3 separate regions of the Homo sapiens genome follow, and all the other regions are linked to region 1. Evidence: promoter capture Hi-C in 16 types of primary human blood cells and fetal thymus (Javierre and others, 2016). All regions are on one chromosome and are shown on one strand. The core of a region is centred on a gene start or on the middle of the fragment in contact, and the rest is flanking DNA. Distances in the headings are between cores, read along the strand shown. Region 1 holds the start of MTF1 (metal regulatory transcription factor 1). Region 2 overlaps GJA9 (gap junction protein alpha 9). Region 3 overlaps AKIRIN1 (akirin 1).

Region 1 (4,282 bases), core at 33-2,532:
CAGCCCGGGTGAGAGAGGGAGACCCCGTCTCTAAAAATAAAATGTAAAATCACTGAAAAAATGAGTGTTCGGTGAAACAAGTGGGATTTTCTGGGCCAGCAAGTCTTCCAAACTGTATATGATGCATCCTGTCTCCATGTGTAATATATTTTAATGATAAATGTATTTTTAACAGTGGCGGTTGTGTATGTTTTTATGTCTTAAGAGATGGCAGTTCGCTGCAGCTGGATTTTGTGGCTCAAGCCTTGGGGCCAAAGAGACATATTCCTGGCAGTCTGGTGGGTACCAGTCACTATTCACATACTTCCAGCAAGAAATGGTTATGGCACTGACCTGAACCCCTTGACCCCTGGTCTGGTCTTTGGAGTTGTCCCACTCTGAATATTCGAGAGAAGCAGCTTATGGTTAAAACAGGCAGTGGCAGCTGGGAGGATCTAACAGCTAGATCCTCCAGGCATTTGGAAAGGACAGGGGCATAACGAAGGCAGAATCGCTTCCTGGGTACGAATGCCCACTACTTCTGGGCACTGTGAAATGGGTTTAAGACGCGGGCCAGCAGGACAATGTGAACGGTGAAAGGAAGGGAGTGGCCGGTAGGTGGCGCTAACTGGCCCGGGCATGAGTCCCGCCGTAGCCGCGTCCTCTTGCAGGGGAAGAAAGTTGGGACCGCCAGCCTGGGCAAGCGCGTGAGAAGGGAGCTGGGGGTCCTAGGCAAGCGCGTGAGAAGGGGAAGAGGCGGCGGCGTCCTCTCCAGCTGGGCTTAGAATACTCTTAGTTCTGCCTTTGGGGTCTTGTCTTCCTTTCTGGGCCTCCTGCCTGTGTTAACTTTGATGGGTGCTGAAGGGAAGGCCGGGGTCCCGGCAGGAGAAACCCGGGAACGTCGCGGCCGTCCAGGCTCCCCTGGCGGGTTGGAGCCAGGGTTCTGACTGCCAACTGTGGTCCTTCCCGCTGCGGCTGTGGCTGCCAGGGCGAGGGCGGTCAGCGCAAACCTGGCTGAGGACATTTCGGATTCTTCCTTGGGGATTCGTTCCCTTCTCCTTGACTCCGGTGCCGCGAGGGCGACACCCTCCGGGCCCCGCGTGGCCACCCCGGGCGCTTCCCCACGCGGATGAACCCACCTCCTGGGCGCCTTCCCCTCGGTGCCCCGCTCGCCAATTGGAGGCTGCAGCTCAGCCCCCTGACAACCTGAGCCAACCAGAGGCGCCAGGGAGGGGCGGATCCTCTGTCCCCACCTTCCTCCGGAAAGAGGAAGCGGAAGTGACGTTAGGGGAAGGTGGGGGCAATCATGGTGCCGCTGGGGAGGGGAGAAGCTGCTGCTGCCGCCGTTGCCGGGAGCCGCGGAGGTAAAAGGCGAAACTAGACTCGGCCTGGGCTTGGGACTTACCGGGAGGCGCGGGACTTAGGCTCCCTCCTGAAGCATTTCCCAATAGAGACCTCAGTTTGGTCACCATAGGGACCCCACCCCTTCTCCGTTTCCATGGGGATGGGTATCCAGCCCCCCTTCCCTGTTTCCATGGAGACCCGGACCCTGCCCCTCTCCTCCTTGCTTGGAGACCCCCAGCTTGTCTTCGGATTTTTCTGTGTAGCCCTGTGCTGGGGGCTATCCCAGACAGGTTCCTTTTCCCAGCCTCCTCTCAAGGGGGCTCTGTTCGCACTCCTCGTTGGCTACCCTCAAACCTCCTGGTCTTGTTTGTTTCGGACAGTTGGTCTCCGCGTTGCCGCCGAGGGTGCCGGGGCAGCCCACTGGGGCCCTCGGTGCTCTTCTCTCTCTGCTCAGATGCAGCGAAATGTACATCTGTGGGGTTGCGTAAGCCAGAGCTAGGGGTCGGGCCGGTACCTCCCGGATCCAATCCTTTGGCCTGTCTCTGGTAACTGTCTAGCCATCCCACTAAGTAAAGGCTCACTTTCTAACCCAGAGCAGAAGAGAAAGATAAAGCGCAAAGCCAGACTGAAAACTAAAAGGGATGTGCTGATTATTTTAAAATTCTCTATTCTGCCTGCCAAACCCACATTTGTAGAGCCTGTGTTTGCAGATGAAGGAAGAATCACTATTCCAGAACATGAAAGCTTCAAATGTGGTATTTTTCTCAAGAGAATGTATCTTCCCAAGATAGTATATCTTCACGAGAGAGTAGGTAGCCATGTCTTTCAGTCATTTAGCTGACATTTCCTGAACTCTTATCATAGTATCAGTGTACTATGCTAGGAGCTGTAGAAACAAAAATAATAAGACTCAATTGATTCAGGGACGAGAGCCCACCACAGAACCATAACTTCTTGTTGACACCATATTGTTTTAGGACATAAATAGATACAGTGATCTTCGTTGTTTGTGCCTGATTGAGGAATAGCCCTTCCACCCAGAAGGTTGAAACATCTGTTCTAGGTAGGGGGGAAGGAATTCATACTTGTTCCTCTACTATTTACCAAACATTGTGCTTTACATATGTTGCCTCTTTTATTTCTTATAAAAACTTTGAGAGAACAGGAATTACTGGTCCCACCTTGCACGTAAGAAAAATGAGGCACAGAAAAGTTACCCATGTAGTAAAAGGCAAAGACAGGATTTGTAGGTAGATGACTCTGCCTCCAAAGCCTTGCTCCTTCTACCATAAACTGCATGAAACCATTTACTGCCTCGTGGTCTGATTTGGAGGATATTTGAATGGATGGAGTTTCCCTTAAGATTTGTAGCAACTCAGCCTTTCAGCAGCTGCTGTTCTGTTTGCTCTTTTGTCCCCTTTAAATATTTTGACCAAGTTTCAAATTGTTTGACAGGCGTATTCAGAAGGTCTTATGAACTTATTCAGTTTTTGAAAAGCATTGCTTTTCTTTCTTTTTCTTTTTTTTTTTTTTTTATTAGAGATGGGGGTCTCACTATGTTGACCAGGCTGATCTCAAACTCCTGGCCTCAAGCGATCCTCCCATCTTAGCCTCCCAAAGTGTTGGGATTACAGGTGTGAGCCACCACGCCCAGTCGGCATTGCTTTTCTTTAAAAATGACTTGATGGTTTTAAAGTTAAAATAAAAAAATTATTCCCAAGGATGGTTTTTCATTTGCTTTGGCTTGCTCTTTAAGTGAGAGGGAAAATGAGCCTTGTGGTTGCTGAGGAGGTCCGTCGGTCTTGTGGTATGACTCTAACTCTGGCTTTGTTCTGTTGCAGACAAGTCATTACGTTTTCATTTCTCACAACTGGGCTGAGCACAACTGAACCATGGGGGAACACAGTCCAGACAACAACATCATCTACTTTGAGGCAGAGGAAGATGAGCTGACCCCCGATGATAAAATGCTCAGGTTTGTGGATAAAAACGGACTGGTGCCTTCCTCATCTGGAACTGTTTATGATAGGACCACTGTTCTTATTGAGCAGGACCCTGGCACTTTGGAGGATGAAGATGACGACGGACAGTGCGGAGAACACTTGCCTTTTCTAGTAGGGGGTGAAGAGGGCTTTCACCTGATAGATCATGAAGCAATGTCCCAGGGTTATGTGCAGCACATTATCTCACCAGATCAGATTCATTTGACAATAAACCCTGGTTCCACACCCATGCCAAGAAATATTGAAGGTGCAACCCTCACTCTGCAGTCGGAATGTCCGGAAACAAAACGTAAAGAAGTAAGTAAAGCAGTCAGTGAGGGCCTAGTTTGGTTTTGGGGCAAGTCCTTACAAAATTCTTGGTGCAAATTTTAGCTGGGGAGTAAAGGAGTGCATGGGGTTAGGACTTAAGTAGTTTTGCTATCAACAACATATGCCTCAGGTTTTGTTGTGATTGCTTCTGGAACTTTTGGTTTGTATAGCCACATTGAAATTTGGGAATATCAAATTGTAATTTCTCGAATTTCCTTCCCCAAATCATAAATAAAACAGAAATTTCACTTAAGTAGACCCATGTTTCTGGTGCTAAAATAACTATTTAGCTTATCTACAGGGAAATAACTGGAGTTTGCTTATTTGATGAAGAAATAACTATATTTGGCTTATCTCCTGGTTGTGTTTAAATGATTTGTTTTAGAGATGAGTATCTGCTGGAATATGTTTTATTATCTTAGTGAATGTTTAATGAACTTTTATTTCACAGTGGCACACGCCTGTAATCCCAGCACTTTGGGAGGCTGAGGCGGGTGGATCATTTGAGGTCAGGAGTTCGAGAGCAGCCTGGCCAACATGGTGAAACCCTGTCTCTGCTAAAAATACAAAAATTAGCCAGGCTTGGTGGCACATGGCTGTAATCCCAGCTACTCAGGAGGCTGAGGCAGGAGAATCACTTGGACCCG
Region 2 (4,427 bases), core at 1,636-4,135, 1.0 Mb before region 1:
ACAAACGAACAAAAAAAACAGAACAAAGGCTGAAGAAAGGAACTAAAGACTCTAGAACTAGTTATTTAAAAAGCCAAAGCTATCACTATTTTACATTCCTAAATTTAAATGATTAAACTTAAGAGAAAACAGATAATCTCTTAATGTTTCTTTCCGGCAAATTTGAAGTTTGCTTACAGAGGAAAAATAATAGTTTAGTAAAAAATTTAAGGAGCTGACTCTAAAGCCACAATGATTGGGTTTGAATGCCAGCTCCAGCTGTGTGACCTCAGGTAAATTAAGGTGTGCTTCCGTTTCCTCATCTGTAAGATGGGGGAAACAACATACTTACCGCATAGGATTTTAGTGATGAACACATCTTGTATCTTAGTAGTTTGTTTGATTGTGTAACAGTTCCCTTTATATAAAGGGGACAGGACATACATTTATATTTTAAATGAAAAATAATGAAAATATTCACTTTTAAAATCTTTCCTTTGGGGTATATTTCCTCTGAGATAACCTGGGATACCAACCTTAATATGCAATCTGCCGGCAAATAATCCAAGCAGCTAAATTATAACTTGCCCCACTGCTTCCTTCAAGAGAGCAGCTATATGTCTTAAATAGGTCAAATACTGCTACAGTGAAAGTTTCCATAATACTGCCACCATACCAGTGAACAATCTATTGCAAGTAATATCTATAATGAGATTCTGGTACCATAAGGCCGGGCGCAGTGGCTCACGCCTGTAATCCCAGCACTTTGGGAGGCCGAGGCAGGTGGATCACCTGAGGTTGGGAGTTCGAAACTAGCCTGACCAATATGGAGGAACCCCATCTCTACTAAAAATACAAAATTAGCTGGGCATGGTGGCGCATGTCTGTAATACCAGCTACTCTGGAGCCTGGGGCAGGAGAATCACTTGAACCTGGGAGGTGGAGGTTGCGGTGAGCCGAGATTGTGCCATTGCACTCCAGCCTGGGCAACAAGAGGGAAACTTCGTCTCAAAAAAAAAAAAAAAAAAAAGATTCTGGTACCATAAAATAGTTGAGAATTTTTGGAGTTCTTTTTGTTTTCTGAGACAGAGTTTCTGCTCTTGTCGCCAAGGCTGGAGTGCAATGGCGCGATCTTGGCTCACCGCAACCTCTGCCTCCCAGGTTCAAGTGATTCTCCTGCCTCAGCCTCCTGAGTAGCTGGGGTTACAGATGCCTGCCACCACACCCAGCTAATTTTTTGTATTTTTGTAGAGACAGTGTTTCACCATGTTGGCCAGGCTGGTCTCGAACTCCTGACCTCAGGTGATCCGCATCGGCCTCCCAAAGTGCTGGGATTACAGGTGTGAGCCACTGTGCTGGGCTTGAAGTTCATTTTAACGTAAGAATTTACAAAATTTGGGCTGGGCGCGGTGGCTTACTATGGGAGGCCGAGGCGGGTGGATCACTCAAGGTTCAGGAGTTCAAGACCAGCCTGGCCAACATGGTGAAACCCCGTCTCTACTAACAATACAAAAATTAGCCAAGCGTGGTGGCACTTGCCTGTAGTCTCAGCTACTTGGCAGGCTCAGGCACGAGAATCACTTGAACCTGGGAAGTGGAGGTTGCAGTGGGCTGAGATCCTGCCACTGCACTCTAGTCTGGGCAACAGAGTGAGACTCTGTCTCCCCCCACCAAAAAAAAAGAAAAAAAGTATACTTTTTCATAGTAAAGTATAATAAGTACTTTATACATATTCATAAATATTACTGAGATGAATTTCTGAAAATGTTCACCAATTGCCAGGAAGAAACCAGAATTTATTTCAAATTTATTTCAATTTGGATTAAAAAAACTAATCTAAATTCCTATGACAGCCAGATCTGTTTCCTCTGGTTTCACTGAATGCCATATCTTACTGAATTATCAAATGAAGCATATTCGTTTTCCTATGTGTATAAATGAGATTTAAAAATCACTGACTTTTTGACCGGGCACGGTGGCTCATGCCTGTAATCCTGGCACTTTGGGAGGCTGAGGCGGGTGGATCACGAGGTCAGGAGATCGAGATCATCCTGGCCAACATGGTGAAACCCCGTGTCTACTAAAATACAAAAAATTATCCCGGGGGGTGTTGGCAGGCGCCTGTAATCCCAGCTACTCAGGAGGATGAGGCAGGGGAATCGCTTGAACCCAGGAGGCGGAGGTTGCAATGCGCCGAGATTGCGCCACTGCACTCCAGCCTGGCGACAGAGCAAGACTCTGTCCCAAAAGAAAGAAAGAAAGAAAAAAAAATCACTGACTTTTCAAGCCAGTAATGGCATGTTGGGGAAAAAGAAATTGACTTTGTTATAACTTTTATATCAAATAATCTTAATAAATAAGGTTAAGATCAGGTTACTAGTTTTAGAAACCTTTCCAAAAGTTCTGTTGAAAAACAACAATAGGCTGGGCATGGTGGCTCACGCCTGTAATCCCAGCACTTTGGGAGGCCGAGGTGGGCAGATCACCTGAGGTCAGGAGTTCGAGACCAGCCTGGCCAACATGGAGAAACATCATCTCTACTAAAAATACAAAATTATCCGGGCATGGTGGTGCATGCCTGTAATCACAGCTACTCAGGAGGCTGAGGCAGGAGAATCGCTTGAACCCAGGAGGTGGAGGTTGCGGTGAGCTGAGATCATGCCATTGCACTCCAGCCTGGGCTACAGAGTGAGACTCCGTCTCAAAAAAAAAAAAAAAAAGAATATAATTTTAGGCCATGCGCATTGGCTCATGCCTGTAATCCCAGCACTTTGGGAGGCCGAGGTGGCCAGATCATCTGAGGTCAAGGGTTTGATCTCAGCTCACTGCAACCTCTGCCTTCCAGGTTCAAGCGATTCTCTTGCCTCAGCCTCCCGAGTAGCTGGGACTACAAGCGCCTGCCACCACGCCTGGCTAATTTTTGTATTTTTAGTAGAGGCGGGGTTTTACCATGTTGGCCAGGCTGGTCTGGAACTCCTGACCTCAAATGATCCACCCACCTTGGCCTCCCAAAGTGTTGGGATTACAGGTGTGAGCCACCCCGCCCAGCCTATATTCTTAATAGAGAATATATACACTCCTCCTCCAGGTATCATGTTTTTTTCATTGTATTGTGATGTCTAAATATAAGTGATTTTAAATTCCTGACATTTAAGTATATTATTGGTAACAGATTCACACTTTGGCCAGGTGTGGTGACCCACACCTGTAATTCCCACACTTTGGGAGGTGAAGGCAAGAGGATCACTTGAGTCTAGGAGTTTAAGACTAGCTGCAGCAATAGAGTGAGACCCTGTCTCTACAAAAAAATAAAAAAAATTATCTGGGTGTAGTTGCACACACCTGCAGTCCCAGCTACTCAGGAGGCTGAGAGGGGAGATGATCGCTTGAGTCTGGGAGGTTGAGGCTGCAGGGAGTTGTGGTTGCAACACTGTACTCCAGCCTGGGCAACAGAGGGAGACTCTGTCTCAACAAACAAACAAACAAAGAAAAAACCCCACAGCTATCTAGGGAAAAAGTAAAGCAACCAGCATATAGAAGTGACATATTGTTATATTTTCACCATAGGTTTGCTTTAAGAAATAGTGCTCCCTTCAGAATGGAAGAATTTATCTGCCTCTTATTTGATGTGGATCAGAGCTAAGATGGCTGACTAAATAAACATGGGGGACTGGAATCTCCTTGGAGATACTCTGGAGGAAGTTCACATCCACTCCACCATGATTGGAAAGATCTGGCTCACCATCCTGTTCATATTTCGAATGCTTGTTCTGGGTGTAGCAGCTGAAGATGTCTGGAATGATGAGCAGTCTGGCTTCATCTGCAATACAGAACAACCAGGCTGCAGAAATGTATGCTACGACCAGGCCTTTCCTATCTCCCTCATTAGATACTGGGTTCTGCAGGTGATATTTGTGTCTTCACCATCCCTGGTCTACATGGGCCATGCATTGTACCGACTGAGAGTTCTTGAGGAAGAGAGGCAAAGGATGAAAGCTCAGTTAAGAGTAGAACTGGAGGAGGTAGAGTTTGAAATGCCTAGGGATCGGAGGAGATTGGAGCAAGAGCTTTGTCAGCTGGAGAAAAGGAAACTAAATAAAGCTCCACTCAGAGGAACCTTGCTTTGCACTTATGTGATACACATTTTCACTCGCTCTGTGGTTGAAGTTGGATTCATGATTGGACAGTACCTTTTATATGGATTTCACTTAGAGCCGCTATTTAAGTGCCATGGCCACCCGTGTCCAAATATAATCGACTGTTTTGTCTCAAGACCAACAGAAAAGACAATATTCCTATTATTTATGCAATCTATAGCCACTATTTCACTTTTCTTAAACATTCTTGAAATTTTCCACCTAGGTTTTAAAAAGATTAAAAGAGGGCTTTGGGGAAAATACAAGTTGAAGAAGGAACATAATGAATTCCATGCAAACAAGGCAAAACAA
Region 3 (4,338 bases), core at 1,014-3,513, 1.1 Mb before region 1:
AATCCCAGCTACTCTGCAGGGGGAGGCGGGAGGATCCCTTGAGCCCAGGAGACTAGCCTGAACAACACAGCAAAATCTCGTCTCAAAAAAAAACCACAAGGGAGCCTGGGTGATTTATCTAAAAAACAAATCAAAATAAACTTTGGGAAAGGGGGCAGCAGAAACCATTATGTTTACAGTGTGGACATCGACCAAGGAAAGAACTGAGATTTAATGCCTAGAAGTGATGGTCAGGGCTTAGAAAATAATTTTCTGATCCTAAGAGGCAACTCAGTGTGTGGGGAGATTATAAGTCAAGGTAATCACAAAGCAAATTTGCTAACACTATTAAAGGGAGCCCAGGAAACACAAATTACTAACCACCTTGAAATACACTCCTAGAAACAACAAAGAATCTAAAAGGATGTGGTTTTCAAGTTCTTTGTTTGTACCTACTAATTTAAAAAAAGAGATACCTGTATCCATCTCAAACAACTCAAATTATTCTAGTGTATACTTTGCTATAACCACCTTTTTTTTTTTAATGGTGGGAGGTATTAACAATGCCACTTTGCTTCTTACTAGCTGTGTGACTATAACCTTGAGAAGTTATTCAGGATCTTTACTTCTTCAATGTAAACATTAAATACCTACCTGATAAGGTTGTAAAAATAAAAACTAAAGGTAACAATAATGTCATAACAAGTGACAGTACAGTCCAGGAACTGACATGAATTCAAGTGGTTCCACACATAGTCAAAGTCCCTAACTTTCAGCCTAAATACTAGAACAATGTAGGAGATGCTTTAAGAGTGTTATGGGCCAGCTGGGTATGGTGGCTTATGCCTGTAATCCCAGCACTTTGGGAGGCTGAGGCAGGCAGATCACAAGGTCATGAAATCGAGACTATCTTGGCTAACATGGTGAAACACCGTCTCTACTAAAAATAAAAAAATTTAGCCAGGCGTGGTGGCACGTGCCTGTAGTCCCAGCTACTCAGGAAGCTGAGGCAGGAGAATCTCTTGAACCGGGGAGGTGGAGGTTGCACTGAGCCGAGATTGTGCCACTGCACTCCAGCCTGGGAAACACAATCAAGACTCTGCCTCAAAAAAAAAATAGAAAAACAAAACAAAAAAACAAGAGTGCTATGGGCCAGGCACTGTGGCTCATGCCTGTAATCCAGCACTTTGGAAGGCCAAGGTGGGAGGATCACTTGAGGCCAGCCTGGGCAACATAACGAGACCCAGTATTAAAAAAAAGAAAAAAAGCCTGTACATGGTGGCTCACGCCTGTAATCCCAGCACTTTGGGAGGCCTAGGCAGGTGGATCACCTGAGGTTCGAGACCAGCCTGACCAACATGGCGAAACCATCTCTACTAAAAATACAAAAATTAGCTGGGCATGGTGGTGCGCACCTGTAATCCCAGCTACTTGGGAGGCTGAGGCAGGAGAATTGCTTCAACCCAGGAGGTGGAGATTGCAGTGAGCCGAGATCACCCCATTGGACTCCAGCCTGGGCAACAGAGTAAGACACTGTCTCAAAAAACAAAACAAAACAGTGCTATGAAGTTTGTATTTTAGATTCCTGAATTTATTAAGTTTTCACCTCACTTTATTTTTTAAGAGAGTCTTACCCTGTCGCCCAGGCTGTAGTGCAATAGCACAATCTCAGTTCACTGCAACCTCTACCTCCCAGGTTCAAGCAATTCTCCTGCCTCAGCCTCCAGAGTAGTTTGGATTTCAGGAGCCCGCCACCACACCCACCTAATTTTTTGTATTTTTAGTAGAGACAGAGTTTCACAATGTTGGCCAGGCTGGTCTCAAACTCCTGACCTCAGCTGATCCGCCCGCCTCGGCCTCCCAAAGTGCTGGGAATACAGGCGTGAGCCACCGCTAGCCCCCTGTATTTTAAGATGTCTTATTCCTCAAGCCAGAGCCAATACAAGGATAAGAACTGCAAATACTTGAAACAAGAAAGGACAAGTATGAGGACAACGCTTAAGAGAACAGAAGGTCTTTGATAAACCTCTGCCTCCTGTATGGCAATGTTAACAAATGGAAAGATACAATTTTGAGGGTGGTAGGACTAAGAAGTCCAAGAATCTAAACACGGTATCCATGGGAGAAAAATAAGAAAGTTAGACATGATTTTCTTCTGTAGAAGGCCATATAAAGCACAAAATTTTTTTAAAAAGAAAAACTCAAATTTCTTTTTAACAGTGGATAATTTTAATCCTTCCCTCCATTACTTGAGGTTGTGCTGCCAGATTTTTTCCGGTCTAAGCCCATCCTCCAAACTCTACAGTGTTCCTACTGCTACAAACCAAAATTCAAACTCTTGAACATGGCAGTCAATACTTTCCAAGATGTGGCCTCAATTTATTTTCCTGGTTCCATCTGGATTCCACTATAATTTAGTTACATTACATTATTCTCTCCTTAAATTGTGGGTTTTTTGGACTTTGCTCTCATGGTTTCCCTGTGCTCGAAATGGGACTATTGCTCAAACTTGATCAAGACTCAGCTAGCCAGGCGCAGTGGCTCATGCAATCCCAGCACTTTGGGAGGCCGAGGCGGGCAGATCACCTGAGGTCAGGAGTTTGAGACCAGCTTGGCCAATACAGTGAAACCCTGTCTTGACAAAAAAAATACAAAAATTAGTAGGCCGGGTGTGGTGGCTCATGCCTGTAATCCCAGCACTTTGGGAGTCTGAGGCAGGCGGATCACCTGAGGTCAGGTGTTTGAGACCAGCCTGACCAGTATGATGAAACCCTATCTCCACTAAAAATACAAAAATTAGCTGAGAATGGTGGCATGCGCCTGTAATCCCAGCGTTCTGGGAGGCTAAGGCAGGAGAATCGCTTGAGTCTGGGAGGTGGAAGTTGCAGTGAGCCGAGATCATGCTACTGCACTCCAGCCTGGGCAACAAGAGCGAAACGTCATCTCAAAAAAAAAAAAAAAAAAAAAAAAAAAAAAAAAATTAGCCGAGCGTAGTGACACATGCCTGTAATCCCAGCCACTGGGGAGGCTGAGGCAGGAGAATCGCTTGAACATGGGAGACGGCGGTTGCAGTGAGCCAAGATCGTGCCACTACACTCCAGCCTGGGCAACAGAGTGACTCTGTCTCAAAAAACAACAAAAAAAGACTCAGCTAAAATGCTACCTTAATTCAGAAGTTATTCTCAGACTCTCAAGTCATAATCAGTTAATTGCTTTGCACATTACGTTTACAAATATTTCCTGCGGTCAGCAACCCCCTTCTTCCATGTCTGGAATTCACCTAGCACTCAATAAAGATTTAAGCAATAAAAGGCTTAGTTTTACAGGACCTTTCCACAAAAAGTACCATACAGATTGAGCATCCCTCATCCAAAATGCTTGAGACAGAAGTTTTGGATTGTGGAATAGTTGCATTATACTTACCAATTGAACATCCCTTACCCCAAATGAGAAAAACTCCAGTGAATAAGTATTTCCTTTGAGTGTCATATTGACACTCAATTTTTGGATCAGTTCAGACTTTGCAGCATTTCGGATTTCAGAAAAATTGCCCAGCTAATTTTTTAGCTTTTTTTTTTTTTTGAGATGGAGTTTCACTCTTGTCACCCAGGATGGAGTGCAATGGCCGGATCTCGGCTTACCGCAATCTCCGCCTCCCAGGTTCAAGCGATTCTCCTGCCTCAACCTCCCGAGTAGCTGGGATTACAGGCATGCACCACCATGCCCCACTAATTTTGTATTTTTAGTAGAGACAGGATTTCTCCATGTGTGTCAGGGTGGTCTTGAACTCCCGACCTCAGGTGATCCGCCCGCCTCCGCCTCCCAAAGTGCTGGGATTATAGGAGTGAGCCACTGCGCCCGGCCTTAGAATTCTTTTGTGGAAACAAGGTCTCATTATGTTGCACAGACTTGTCTCGAATTCCTGGGCTCAAGCAATCCTCCTGCCTCAGCCTCCCAAAGTGCTGGGATTGCAGGTGTGAGCCACCACGCCTTGCCCACATTCTCTTTTTTTTTTTTTTTTGAGATGGAGTTTCGCTCTTGTGGCCCAGGCTGGAGCGCAATGGTGTGATCTCCGCTCACTGCAACCTCTGCCTCCCGGCTTCAAACGATTCTCCTGCCTCAGCTTCCCTAGTAGCTGGGATTACAAGTGCATGCCACCACTGCCCCCAAAACAAAAATAACTTTTTTTTTTTTTAAGATGGAGTCTCGCTCTGTCGCCAGGCTGGAGTGCAGTGGCGCGATCTTGGCTCAACGCAACCTCGCCCGGCTATTTTTAGTAGAAACAGGGTTTTCACCATGTTGGCCAGGATGGTCTCGGTCTCTTGATCCACCCACCATGGCCTCCCGAAGTGCTGGGAT

What was found. Contacts are between HindIII fragments. The CHiCAGO score rates a contact against its expected background, and 5 or more counts as called.
Region 2: a contact is called between a fragment that was not itself captured here and the fragment with the promoter of MTF1 in region 1, in 8 of 17 cell types (neutrophils, non-activated CD4 T cells, fetal thymus and 5 more). The highest score is 10.7, in neutrophils.
Region 3: a fragment that was not itself captured here is called in contact with the fragment with the promoter of MTF1 in region 1 in 1 of 17 cell types (neutrophils); the score reaches 5.5 in neutrophils.

What each region holds. Positions count from the first base shown.
Region 1 is chr1:37,856,592-37,860,873 of GRCh38, reverse strand. MTF1 (metal regulatory transcription factor 1) reads left to right here and starts at 1,282. Exons shown (of 11, transcript NM_005955.3): 1 at 1,282-1,343; 2 at 3,165-3,623. The coding sequence starts at 3,216. INPP5B (inositol polyphosphate-5-phosphatase B) reads left to right here. Exons shown (of 24, transcript NM_005540.3): 24 at 1-177. RefSeq lists a silencer at 1,016-1,345. The HindIII fragment of the contact is 3,574 bases long and covers 1-2,069 here.
Region 2 is chr1:38,875,313-38,879,739 of GRCh38, reverse strand. GJA9 (gap junction protein alpha 9) reads left to right here. Exons shown (of 2, transcript NM_030772.5): 2 at 3,547-4,427. The coding sequence starts at 3,642. RRAGC-DT (RRAGC divergent transcript) reads right to left here. Exons shown (of 2, transcript NR_186075.1): 2 at 3,514-3,799. All of the region lies in intron 1 of GJA9-MYCBP (GJA9-MYCBP readthrough), which reads left to right. Among named protein-coding and RNA genes, the nearest start is that of GJA9, 4.1 kb to the left of the region's middle. RefSeq lists a silencer at 1-113. The HindIII fragment of the contact is 8,897 bases long and covers 1-4,427 here.
Region 3 is chr1:38,993,294-38,997,631 of GRCh38, reverse strand. All of the region lies in intron 1 of AKIRIN1 (akirin 1), which reads right to left. Among named protein-coding and RNA genes, the nearest start is that of AKIRIN1, 4.2 kb to the right of the region's middle. The HindIII fragment of the contact is 5,767 bases long and covers 1-4,338 here.